2 separate regions of the Homo sapiens genome follow, and region 1 is linked to region 2. Evidence: promoter capture Hi-C in human tissues and cell types (Jung and others, 2019). All regions are on one chromosome and are shown on one strand. The core of a region is centred on a gene start or on the middle of the fragment in contact, and the rest is flanking DNA. Distances in the headings are between cores, read along the strand shown.

Evidence for each region. The method cuts DNA at HindIII sites, captures the fragments that hold promoters and counts their contacts. A contact is called where the count stands out against the background at its distance.
Region 1: a contact is called between a fragment that was not itself captured here and the fragment with the promoter of GRM8 in region 2, in 1 of the 25 tissues and cell types used here (hippocampus).

The regions. Positions count from the first base shown.
Region 1 is chr7:126,692,068-126,698,482 of GRCh38, forward strand. All of the region lies in intron 7 of GRM8 (glutamate metabotropic receptor 8), which reads right to left. Among named protein-coding and RNA genes, the nearest start is that of MIR592, 360 kb to the right of the region's middle. RefSeq lists an enhancer at 4,685-4,754. The HindIII fragment of the contact is 9,446 bases long and covers 1-6,415 here.
Region 2 is chr7:127,251,382-127,257,630 of GRCh38, forward strand. It overlaps GRM8 (glutamate metabotropic receptor 8), which reads right to left and starts at 1,560. Exons shown (of 11, transcript NM_000845.3): 1 at 1,416-1,560. RefSeq lists an enhancer at 2,398-2,647 and a silencer at 2,768-2,827. The HindIII fragment of the contact is 12,389 bases long and covers 1-6,249 here.

The DNA.
Region 1 (6,415 bases), core at 2,719-5,218, 560 kb before region 2:
CATGCTGAAAAGAAAGAGAACTGGAGGGGAAAGCCAGGAATAGAAAAGAAAATGTTGCCCATTCACAATGGGAATTAAGCTTTTCCTATAATAAAGACCTTGACACAGAAGTGAGTGGGCTAACGAACTTTCTCCATCCAACAGTTAGTTCTATGTGTATCACTAAAGTTATAAACACATTCTTGAGTACCAGAATTTTAATTTTGATACCACAACCTTTGAAATTCTACTATAATTGGGTCAAACTCTGGAACAGTAGCAGATATGCTGACTTGCTATAGAATGAGAGTGACAAAGAATGATGAGGAAATGCCTGAGGTTGAGTCCCAAAGTACTCTAAGTGTCCCCCACCAAGGACAGTGATGACTAAGGCCCTCTCCATGTCCTTGATGTCAACATTAGATGATGTGTGTTAAAAATGTTGAGAATGGAGGGGACTATCTTCAGGACATGGCATTACTCTCCACATGGAAGGTGTGTTCAATATGCCATCCTGGGAAGATTGAATTCTTGCAGCAGCACATAATGGAAAAATACTACAGCACTAAGCAGTAAACTGAGAATATATCAGAATCCCAAAGACTACATCTAATATTGCTTAACTGTAGAATGTAGTTATACACTGTTCTGACTGGAAAAAAAAATAAAACACTGCAATTTTTTCTCTTCCCTATTGAGGATGAGTTCCTTACTAACTTGGAATTCAGTTAAGGTTTAGTTTAACCAAACTATTCCTTAGGGAGTTGATTCCTATCAAAGGTCAAATCCTGAAAGAGTAAAATAATCACCTTCCAAATATCAATCTTGTAAAACAGAAGGAGGATCAGAAAATTAGTAGGTTATACTTTATGGGCAATTTCTCTTCACAGCTTAATGCTTTGTTTATATAACTATCCTTATTAAATTATTTTAGCAATAAGAATGGTGTTGCCTTCACCCCACTTCACTCTCCAAACCCTCAATAGGAAAAAGTTGGCTGGAAGAGTGAATAACAAACTAATCGCCTCAAACTTCACTAAGATTAACTGGATATGTCACCTCCTCTAAAGATCACAGCAGTCATTCACTGGAATAACAAATGGCAAGACGGGAAACCAAATTGTCAACATGGGTACAAAGAATCTACTAATTTGCTTGAGGTTAGTGGGTAATAGGCAGTGTTATACTAACATTATTATTCCTTTGTGATACATTTCCAACCAAATTTCTTTTATTAGAAATGCTTTTTTCTGATTATGAAAATAATAAATGCTCCTTATGAAAAATCAAAAATATATTTTAAAAATACAAGAAAACAATAATAATTAACAATAAGACTGGCAACCACAGATGATCATTGTAATGAATTAGCATTCTTCTTTCAGTGTTTTGGTGTATATAAGTACAATACATTACAGCATGTAGGTGCTTTGCAGTTTATGTGTATTAGCATGGTCTCATTTTGTTAAATTATTATAAGCAACAATATTAATGCCTGTATTATATTCCAATCTATTGACATTTATATATCCTTTGTTTTCTAACATAAAAAGCTTTTAAAATAGGTACAAATACTTTTTCTAAAAGTTTTACATTACTTCTTAGGGTAAAATTCTTGGAAGTAGTGTTTCTGAACCAAAGAGCAAGAAGAAAATATTTTGCCGAATTATTTTCTAGACAGTTTTCTTTGTTTTATAGTTTGTTTAATCTTTTGCTGGGCATATAAAATAGTAGTCTGATCTCTGTGCCTTCTTATCAATCCAAAATATTTCTTCTCAAAGTATTTTCTATTTCAAAAGATGAAAAATATGTCTCAAGTTATGTTTCATTTATTACATCTAAGTCTTAATCATTTTCATAAATGTATCAGTCAAATGTAGTTTCTTTCATAAATTGTTGGAATATGCCCTTTGTAAATTGCTATTTTAAGATTTTTTAAGATAGGTCATTAGAAATTTGTATGACCATTATAAATATTCAACGTATTAAACGTTTCTCTTATATTTGAGGCAAATATTTCTCCCAACTATGTTTTTCTTATTTATTTATAAGAAAACAAACTAAACTATATATAGTTATATTTATTAACTAAATATAAATAGTTAGGTCTATTTATATTTCCCTATGTGATTCTGACTCAATTCCTCTACATTTAGAAAAATTCCTCCCCCTCTACAGATTAGACATGCACCATCTAAAACATAGTACTTGCTTTTTAATTATTATTGTTAGAATTAAATGAAACTGAAACTTGTTAATGAAATTAGCTAACAAAATTTTCCACTGCTGACCAGATATTATAAAAAACATTGAACCTATCATGTTTAATAGTGCATAGATTTTCCCAAGCTGGATAACTGTGAAATAGAGTGTAACCAATGATTTGAGTGTAACTGTGATTAAACTTTCCAATGTTGGAAGACACTTTTAATGGAAGCTATTATCTATATTTATAGCAGTTTCATTTTTTACTTCAGCTGTTACTTACTCAATTTTTTTCTTCTCTTTTTTGCAATTGATTTGCAAAATATTCCATTAATTGCCTTATAACTGTTATACATATGGAAAATTGTTAGCATGCCTTAAAGTGATCAAGAAAGCTCTTGAGTGTTGAAATATACTAAGTCTTATTTTAGATCTACATTTCTCCTCTGGGTTCTGCTTAGGCAAAACTAGTTACATTTAATGACGCTTTCATGCATTTGCTATTAAATTATATTAGTCTAGGTCAGTCAGAACCTTGAGATACGTTTGTCTCTTGAGGCTCCTTGTCTGGACTAGATGTCCATGCAATTCTTGTTCAGCTCCAAGTCCAGCCAGAGGCATTTAATGTGGCCAACAACAATGGTCTCATGCCTTGATTCTAACATGTATCTGGGGGTCTGAGCTTAAGAATGGAGAAACAGAATGTAAGTGGTCCTGTCAGTTGTTAAACTACTCTTTCCCTGCATCCCCAGTCTTGCCTCATAGATATCCTCGGAATAAAATATCATGATTTTTAAGCATCTCAGTTTGTACTAGGATTGCATTGATGGGTGGCTTTTCCAACAGAGGAGGAATAGAGATGGGAGGGACTGAGATGCCTATATTCGAGAAAAACTATTTCTAGGCAGATAGCCAAATCTTGATCCATCAAAATACTAAATTAGTAATATATTAAAACATTTTTAAAGGGAATTCTGTTATTATTATGAAGAAAATGAGAAAAGAATAATATTCCATACTGATATCTTCTATCATTTGGAAATACCTACTTTCTTCCAAGAACTGTATAATGTACTAGAGACATAAGATTAAAATATATGGTCCCTGTTTCCAAATAGCTCATAGCATGGAGACCAGGCTGACCAGGAAACAGTATCAGCTATGAAACGGAAGTACTGAATTACAAGGAGTAGATGGAATGACTGCCTAGCTGAAACTGTAAACATCAAGAAGAATTCCTGGATAATGTGCCCTATGAATTGAGTTTTACAGGAAGAGAATCTCAGGCAGAAGAAAGCATATTAGAAGGCCCAATGCTGTGAGAAATAACCTATTTACCTCCCTGCAAGTATTTCAGCAAAGGTCTTAATTGGTCAGTGACAATTAAGTAAAATGAAGGGCTTAGGAGGTCCAGATGATTAAGGTTTTTATTCGGCTTGCTAAGGATTTTGGACTTTATGCTAAGCCAATAAAAAGGTATTGAAAGACTTTAAGTAGTCAAGGATGTATGATCAGATTTGCATTTTAGAAAAATTTCTCTGGCCACAATTACGTAAAAAACAGAGAAGGATGGGGCGGGGGACACATTAGCACAAAAGAATAGTTAGAGGACAATTCTTGGCCATTCAGGAAAGAAATGAGGAGGGTCTTAAGTAGAGAGAGTGTTTCTGAAGAAAGATATTAAAGAGCCATAAGAGGCAACATATGATCACTGATTATAAGGTTGGAGAGACAGGGATAAAGAAAAGGGTGAAGGCAACCCAGCTTTCTGGCTTTTACAACCAGGTAAAATGTGATGACGTTCACAGAAGCAGGGAGTAACAGTGTGAAAGAAGGCTTGATTGAAGGTAGAATACAAATAGCTTGAGTTACCTGTGAAATGCACAAGTGGATACACAGGGCTGGGACTAGGGTGAAGTGAGTGATGCATGGAATTGGATGCAAAATTTAAGAAACAAAAACTCTTTGAAAAAATGCATTTTATTTTAAGTCTGGGATACATAAGTAGGATGTGCAGGTTTGTTACACAGGTAAACGTCTGTCATGGTGGTTTGCTGCACCTATCAACCCATCACCTAGGTATTAAGCCCCGCATGTATTAGCTATTTGATATTGATGCTCTCTCTTTCCCTGCCCCCTACTCCTGACAGGCCCCAGTGTGTGTTGTTCCCCTCCCTGTATCCATCTGTTCTCATCGTTCAGCTCCCACTTACAAGTGAGAACATGCGGTCTTTGATTTTCTGTTCCTGTGTTAGTTTGCTGAGGATAATGACGCAGTGGTAACACATGGAAGCCTCCTTTCTTTAAGGAACTATTACTGAGAGAGAGGCAGAAGGTTTAAAGGTTGTGTTTTTATTTATTTATTTTTACTTTTCTCTCATGAAATAAGAAACTGGAACATGTTTATTTGCTGAGGCTAAAAGGAACTGGCAATGGAGAAGGGACGTGGGAAGGAACAAATCAGAGAAGATAGATGCCAAAACAAAGACAGACAGAGGCTGAAGAAAAGGAGGCTCAGATGGGATTATTGTAGACAGTTTACTGAATACAGGCCTTCAAAACTGGGGGGCTTCCACCCAGGAAGTGAAACCATATGACCCAGCAATCCCTCTTCTGGTTATACACCCAAAAGGAAGTGAAATCAGCACCTTGTAGAAATATCCGCACGCCAATGTTCGTTGCAGCACTATTCACAATAGCCAAGATATGAAAGCAACCTAAGTGTCCCTCAAGGGATGAATGGATAAAGAAAATGCATAATATATACAAAAGAGAATACTGTTCAGCCTTTAAAAAAAAAAAGAAAATTCTGCAATTTGTGACAAAATGGACAAACCTGGAAGACATTATGCTAAGTGAAATAAGCCAGGCACAGAAAGACAAATACTGTATGTTCTCACTTATGTGTGGAATTAAAAAAAAAAAAAAAAAGTCAAGCCCATAGAAAAAGATAGTACAACAGTGGTTATCAGGGACAAGGAGGGGATGGGGAATGGAGAAATGCACGTCAATGGGTACAAAGTTGCAGTTACATAAACAACTGAAATAAGTAAGTCTCAAGAGCTAATGTACAGCATGAGGACTACAGCTAATAATTTTGTATTATATACTAGAAACTGGCTAAGACAGCAGATTTTAGGTGCTGTTACCACCAAAAAATAAAAAAGAAGGTAATTACGTGACATGATGGATATGTTAATGTGCTTGACCTTAGTATATTTCACTAAATATATATGTAATATACATTTATCAAAGCATCATGTTGTATGCCTTAAATATACACAATAAAAGAAGGAAAGTAATGCACTTTTATTGCCTGGACAACACATTAACACATCTCCCCATTGTGGGTCATTTTTTTTTCTTTTGAAATGTTTATAACATTTACTCACATCTTTCCATATTTCTGCCCATCCCCAAATTTAAGGAAATTAGTATGCAATACTTATCTGCCTGTAATCCCTTCTCTTTGGGGCATTAATCAGCAGTTACTAATCTGAAGATTTAACAAGGGAAGAACAAAGAAGCATTAAAAACACTATTTGCTGAAAATATAGAAGGGGTGCCTAAGTGTTGCTCACATCTCTTCAACCTTCAGGTGGAAATTATACTCAAGGCTGCAATGGCTGGAACCCCAAGTTCACTGAAATCTGCATCTTGAAGGAATTTTTGCACAAAACAGTTCTTTCATTTCAGAAATAAAATATTTACTAAAAAGTTGAGAAACAATGCAAGCAAATGCAGTAAATATTTGTTCTTCATGGAAGCAAGTTATTCCTTTACATACTCCTATTGTCTCAGTGAAGTTCTGGAGGTTTATACAAATGGAATAGATTGTGGAACTACCCCTGAGAACTACTCTTAAACATGCTACGTATTCAGGATGTCAAATTAAAGGAGTCTCTGAGGCTGCCGCTTCTCTGGTCATCTTTAATTAGACAATACTCTGGTGAAACCCTCACAATTAATATTAAGAGTTGTTCTTCTTCTACAGTAAGTGGAAGGGGAATTATGTAGTGGCTTGTTCTTTGTTATAATTTTATTGAGAGGGTTGTGGAGGAAGGATTGGAATATAATAGAATTGTTCTATTTTCTACCATTTACAGAAAACTAGATGAATCACAAAATTGAAGAAAAAATGATGCTTATCTTTTAAATATGTATTTTATAAATATTTAACTTATATTAAAATTACTTTCCACATATTACAAAATGCTCTAGGCATATCAGT
Region 2 (6,249 bases), core at 310-2,809:
CGAAGCTCAAGGGATATCCGAGCTTTCTGGCTGGGCGGATGGGCTTCGCGCTTGGCATGGCTGAGCGGTCCATCTCTACCTCTCCGTTTCTATCTCTACCATAACAGCGACCACTCAGCCCGCCAGGAGCCCCTGTTTCCCAGCGCAGGTTCCTTTTTCTTCTCAGTTCCTTGGGCTGTTGAAGCCGGGTTCTGGGTAGATAGAGACTGGGGCCGTGGGGAGAGCGCCAGGCTGCTTTTGCCTTTCCCGCGCCCCGGGGCATTCCGGCGCGCTGGGGATGCAGCCTCCGCCCCCGCCGCACCTGGCCGCCCGAGCGCCCGCGCCCACGCCCCGCGCGGGGCCGCCCGAAACTGGGGCCGCGCCAGCCGCGGGAGCTACCGAGGAGCTGTTGGGGTGCGTTTGCCTTTGCTTTTTAAACAAGATCCCCGAGACCTTTTCTCCATCCCCCCAACCCCCAGCAGGACACGGAACTCCGGCGTTTCTCGAAAGCCACAAAAGAGGGGCACGGAAATCCCAAGCTCGCCGTGCTAACTCGGAGAACGCAAACTCGAGGCAGAGCGTGCGCCGTGCGGGGATGTGGGTGTCGAGGACCCCGAAGCGCCCGGCTTCCCCCGCGACCCCCATCCTCCCTAGATCCTGGTTAGACATCCATCCAGCCCACGCTCAGAGGGCGGGGGTTACCCCGACTCATCCCGGAAGCCGCTAACTTCAGAAATCCCTCCTGTTAGGTTCGCGAAACGAAGGTACCTCGTCATCTCGGCGGGGCAAGTCCGGATTCCACCAGGGCAGGTCCGGGAGGTCACCCAGGGCAGACGATCCGAGGCAGAGCGCTTTAAAATCCTGCCGCCGCACGCCCAGTCAGAGCGCCGAGCGCGCCTGCCCCCTTCCCGTCACCCTTCAGTCTCCCATTCGCCGACTAAACTTTTGGGGGATCACATCTCCAAGCCTTGGGAGTTCCGGGTAAAGTCTCCCTCTTTTCTGAACCTCTTTACTGTAATGTAATCATGGGCAGACAAGAGGGGTGGCTGCCTTGTTCTTTGCAACGTAAAATCAACAGACACCCAATCAAGCTCCAATGCCCGGCCAGCCCCTCGCCCCCTGGTGCCCACTCTCCTTCTCCCCCCATTCCCGTCACCTCCGCCCGCTATTTCTCTCACAGACTACGGACATGCAGGGCCATCTACTTGTGCTCAGGAAAAACAAATCACTAGAGTGATATGAGAAGGAATGGTGCACCTGGCTGTCCGCTGAAAGGTTTTAGAGAAGAAAACGGAAAGGGGAATAAAACGGGGGGATTCTCCTTTTCCAACAAGCAGGGCGTTTTGGGGAAGTTTGGGGGCCAGGGGCTTTTTGTCCCGTGGTTCGGCACTTGCTTTCCTCGGAGCCGCTTTCTGCTGCCGGGCGGCGAGTCTTACCCTGCTCCCCGCAGAGGGCGCGGTGAGGAAGCCCGCCGGGGGCCCGCAGCTCCATGTCAGCGCCGCCGCCGCCGCCGCCGCCGCCGCGTGAGGCGAGCACAGCGGCCGCACTTGTGGCTGATCTCTGGGCTGAGGGGGCTGAGCTGGCCTAGCAGGCGCCAAGTCTCTTCCATGTGAATAACAAATACTCCCACCGGCGGCCGCGATTGGTCTGCGCCCGGCGCCTCCCGATCCTCCGCCCGCGGCCATTCACCCGGCGCGGCGCGGGGAGCCGCGGCCAGGATCGCGCCCGGGATCGCCAATCGCTTCGCGCCAACCAGTCACCTCGGGAAGCGGGAGGAGGAACCCCCGAGGGGCGGGAGCCTCTGGATTTCGGTGTCACCCAGCGGCCCTGGCGCGGGCAGGGAGGGGGACCCTCGGCCCGCGGATCCCCCTCCGCTCTTCAGCCTGAAGCGACGAGGAGACCAGAAATGTCAATAGTTCTGATTTTTAAAAATCATCCCCCCTTCCCCGCCCCCAAGAAAAAGGGGAGGACCCAACTACAGAGTGAGAGGGTGGGAAGAAGCGGGAGCGGTAGAAGAAGGAATATGGTTGTGGAGGAGCCCAGCGGCTCCGGCTGCCTGGCGAGCCCGGGACCGGCGCGGGGAGGCGCGACGCCCGCCCGAGCACAGCGGGCAGCACCCGCGAGCCCGGGTCCCCGGTGAACACAGCTCCAGAAAGCGTCACCGAGAATAACACATGGTAGATGACAAGTGTCCCGCCACATGCTTTCTTTTCGGGAATGCTTAAAGTAGAGCCGGCAAGCCGCGCGGTTCCCTTGCAAAGTTTGCCTGGCGCCGCGCGGCGGTTCCGCCATTTGTCCCGCCCCGCGGCTCTGGCGATTGTCTCCCCACTCCCCGCCCCCGAGGGTCTGAGGGACGCGTGCAACAGAGTCCCCAGGGCTCGAGGTACCACACAGCGCGGTCCGCTGCGGGCACTGCGCAGGAAGGGGCATGGGTGGCTACCGGGACGGTCATTTTATTGAGATGATTCAAGGAGCCGCAGACGCGGGGCAGGAAACTCCGGGGGAGCCGTGCTCGGGTTCTGCAGGGAAACCTCGGGATTCCCTTCGCATGCCGCATGCGGAAACCTGCCGGGCTCGACGTGCACAGTCCAGCGCTCCTCCCCACTAGTTACTGCCCAGGCCCCCCGATCCTGCACCCGCCGGAATGAGAGAAAGTAGCCCCTCGCCGCCCAGCTCCCGGGTAGCTGCTCCGGCCGGGCCTTGCGTTGGTGAGAAAGTTCCATCTAGAGGCGGCCGCGCGCAACTGCAGGCGGCGCCCTAGGCCCGGGCGAGCCAGGGAGAGCGGGGCGCGGGGGGAGAGGGGGCAGCCCAGGAGATAAGGAGGATGGAGAAGGACGGGAGAGACCCCGAAAAGGCAAGCTCTAGACCCCCGTTCGGCATCTCTACAATGAATTTTATCTTCCTAAGCATCATGAACTTATAAGCATTATGTCAGGAATCTTTCATTAATTCCTGTATATATCGCCTGTTCTGTTCGGGTTATTTTAATTTTCACATCAACTCTGTGAGATGGTCAAAATTATTAAGCCCACTCTACAGATGGAGGCAGAAGCCGAGGCTTAGAGACACGGCTGGAAAGTATTACAGCCAGAAATCAGTGTCTGGCTTCAAAACCCCATAGCACTTCCTCCCTGGTGGTGTTGGCTTTTCCCAAGGCTGGTTGTAATGTGCGAAGTTTCGATTGAGGAAACAGCTGTCTCTCTCCTAATTTCAAAAAAGGACCCTTGCCCTTTGTCACTTAGAAAAAATCTACAGGTTTTCAGCCCAGGGCACCTCTTCCCCTTTCGTTCCCTTCCTTCTCCCATCTCATGAGAGGCTCTTTGATTGTTGAATCATTATTTTATAGCTGCAACCACAAAAGAGGGAGGGAGGAGGATTTGGAGAGAGAAAATGGGCTGGGTCCTCTGTCTGAAAACCTTTCTGCATAGGGAACCTCAATTCCCTGTGAATGTCTAGTGCAGCTCTGAAGAGGGTGATCAGTGTCCGGTGCCACTTGGGACAAGGAAGGTGGGAAGAGGGAAGAGCTCCTAATTTATGCGGAGATGGGGCTGGGTGGACTTCCTGGTTGCACGCCTGCGTGTAAGACGCTTTAAAGATTTTCTTTTCTTAGGGACTGGAAGAGATCCCTCCTCCCCCAGAAGTGTAAAGTAAGTGCAGTGGCCTGATTTCTATAGCAGGAAGCCCACTCCACCCCAAACTCCAGACCCATGATCCCGGTCTGAGCAATGATATCACAGATAACGTAGAGGTATGAATAAGTCCGTTTTAGACCATTTACTACGTGTGCATTGATAAATTTGAGGGGAAAAGAGACACGACGGAGGGGAAAGGCAGAGGAGGCCCGCAAATACGTTGGGCATCGACAACTGCTGACCACACATCGTCTTCAGGGTAGGCTAGAGGCCAGCTGCAGGGCCAGTTGGGTCGTTGCCTGGCATGAGCCAAGAGGGCAGCAGCCTGGTGCTCTAGTGGGCCCATTTTAATAATAAGGGCAATAAGGCTGGCTGTGGCTTTGGAAGCCTAAGGAGGCCGAGTGAGCCTCTTGGGGAAGAAATGCCTAATGAGCTGCCTTTCTCCTTTCCCTATTGATCATTACCTGCAGAGAACTGATGTCTTACAGGCACATCGCTGCCCTTTTTGGTGCAGCCTTCTGCGAGAAAACTAGACTTGATCTCTCCTAAGGAAAGTGCAAGTCCGATGCTTCGTTTTGCATCATCTTTAACTCTTGATACTCAAAATAGAACCATCACTCAAATCCTACATGGAATCTGGTCAATAAGAAATAGAGCCCTTCTATATATTCTTCAGTGTTTCCAATGGCTTTATCTAGTAGCCCCTGAGCAAGTGACACAGCCTTCTGTACAGGTTATAATTTGCCCATGTACAGGTTATAATTCGCCCAGACTGATAGCAACACTGGGACACAGGAAGAAAGATTGTCTCCAGGAGGGACTGGTCCTTATCAGTAACATTCACAGGAAAAAGTTATTGGCTGTACAACCTCTATTCGTCAGGGCCAAACACCATGATGCTGCTTGCTCATTGCTGCAATCTGAGTCAGGGGAGAGTGTCTGAAGACCAGGCCGTCCAGACATGCAGCTTATTCTAGAGTCATCCACCTTGCCTCCCCTTGGGATCCCACCCTCTGCAATACACACTGTGTCTTTGGAAAGTGTCTGACCTCATCCTCCATCCCACCCCAAATGTTTATTCAAACCAAGTATATTTCCTAGTAGTTAATCCTCCAGGAAGATTTGCCTATAATCTTCTCATTTTCAGTTGATTTAAAATGTGAGAAACTGCCCATGTGTTAGAAAATGCAAAAAACAATGCCATATGTTTGGGGTCCATTTAACTCAAGCTGTGATACATATTCCACACATGGAGATTTATGCCACAATTCCTGCTTTGGAGTAATCATTAAGGCTGAGAACCTTTGCAGGCTACTCACCCAAGAGAAATATCGACAGCATGATGCTCCCACATGGAGCAAAGCTGACAGGGGAAAGTGGGAATGGGATTTGTTTCTTTTGGAAACGAAGACAATATTTTTCTTGCTAGACCATCTGCACATGGCAGTGAGTGTACCATGTGGGTTTTGCTCAGTTTATTAGACACTGGCTGCTAGAAGCAAGATCAGACATGTTAGACTGACAGTCAGATAGAGCCAATGAGATTCATGACACCAATGTCATGAATGAGTGTGTTCTGCACTTCCACAGTCAACTCATACCTGCATACAGGAGTCATGGGAAAGATTCTTTAAGAATTTCTGACATATGGTATATGGGCATCTCTACTGGCTTCATTTGGGTTCCCCTAGAAGCACAACCTGAAACAAGGATTCAAGAGCAGGTAGTTTAAGAGGTGAAGGGAATCCCAGTACTCAGGTGGGGAAGTGAGCCAATAAAGGGTGCATTATCAAGCTAGGTATCACTGTAGGCACCTGGTACCTAATCCCAGTGGGGAACTCTGGAAGTCAGTGTAAAACACACAGCAGAGAGTGGGTCCAACTGAGGGATGAGGGAGCTGGGGTATCTATACACCAACACTTATAAGATGTTAGTTAAGAACTGCTACCAGATGATGTTTATTCTCTGGCAATTCTAGCCTATCACATGGATGGCAAAGCAGCCTCCAGAGATCATGTAAAGACCTCTGGAAAAAAAATGCAGGGGCTGGCAGTTAGTAGGCAGGTGATATGTAATCAGGGGTCAAGGACAAGACAATAAGGGCAGGTCACAGTTAGCCTCTGCAACACCTGTTTAGGCAAACCTCATAAAACTTGTACTAATCAAGGCAGTGCCTCTCTATGTGTGTTGCAAGGACCACCTGCCTCAAAATCACAGGGGTGCTGATTGTAAGCACAGATTTCTGGGCCCTATCCCAGAGCTGTTTGAATCAGACTTGCTGGGATGGGGCCTGGGAAGCTGCCTGTTTTGCAAACGTTCCAGGAAATGACGTTCACTAAAATTTAAAATGTACTACATTCAGGAAATCATTCTCCTCACAGGCAGCCAGCAGGCAGCACATTTAAATATATGAATACTTGCTTGCAATGCCTAAGGAGGCAGACCTGAGAAATGAGGAGCCCAGGGAAGGGGTGCCTATATGCTCATATCTGTCCATGGCCACAGAAGCTCTCTTTTCTCTCTTTTACTCCACTCTCCCTTTAGATGGGGTTTAACACTGAGAAGGTTCCATCGAGTATTTTCTGGGGGGAAAAAGAGGCTGAGCTCCACCCCTAACTTTGCCATTAATAAGTCATAT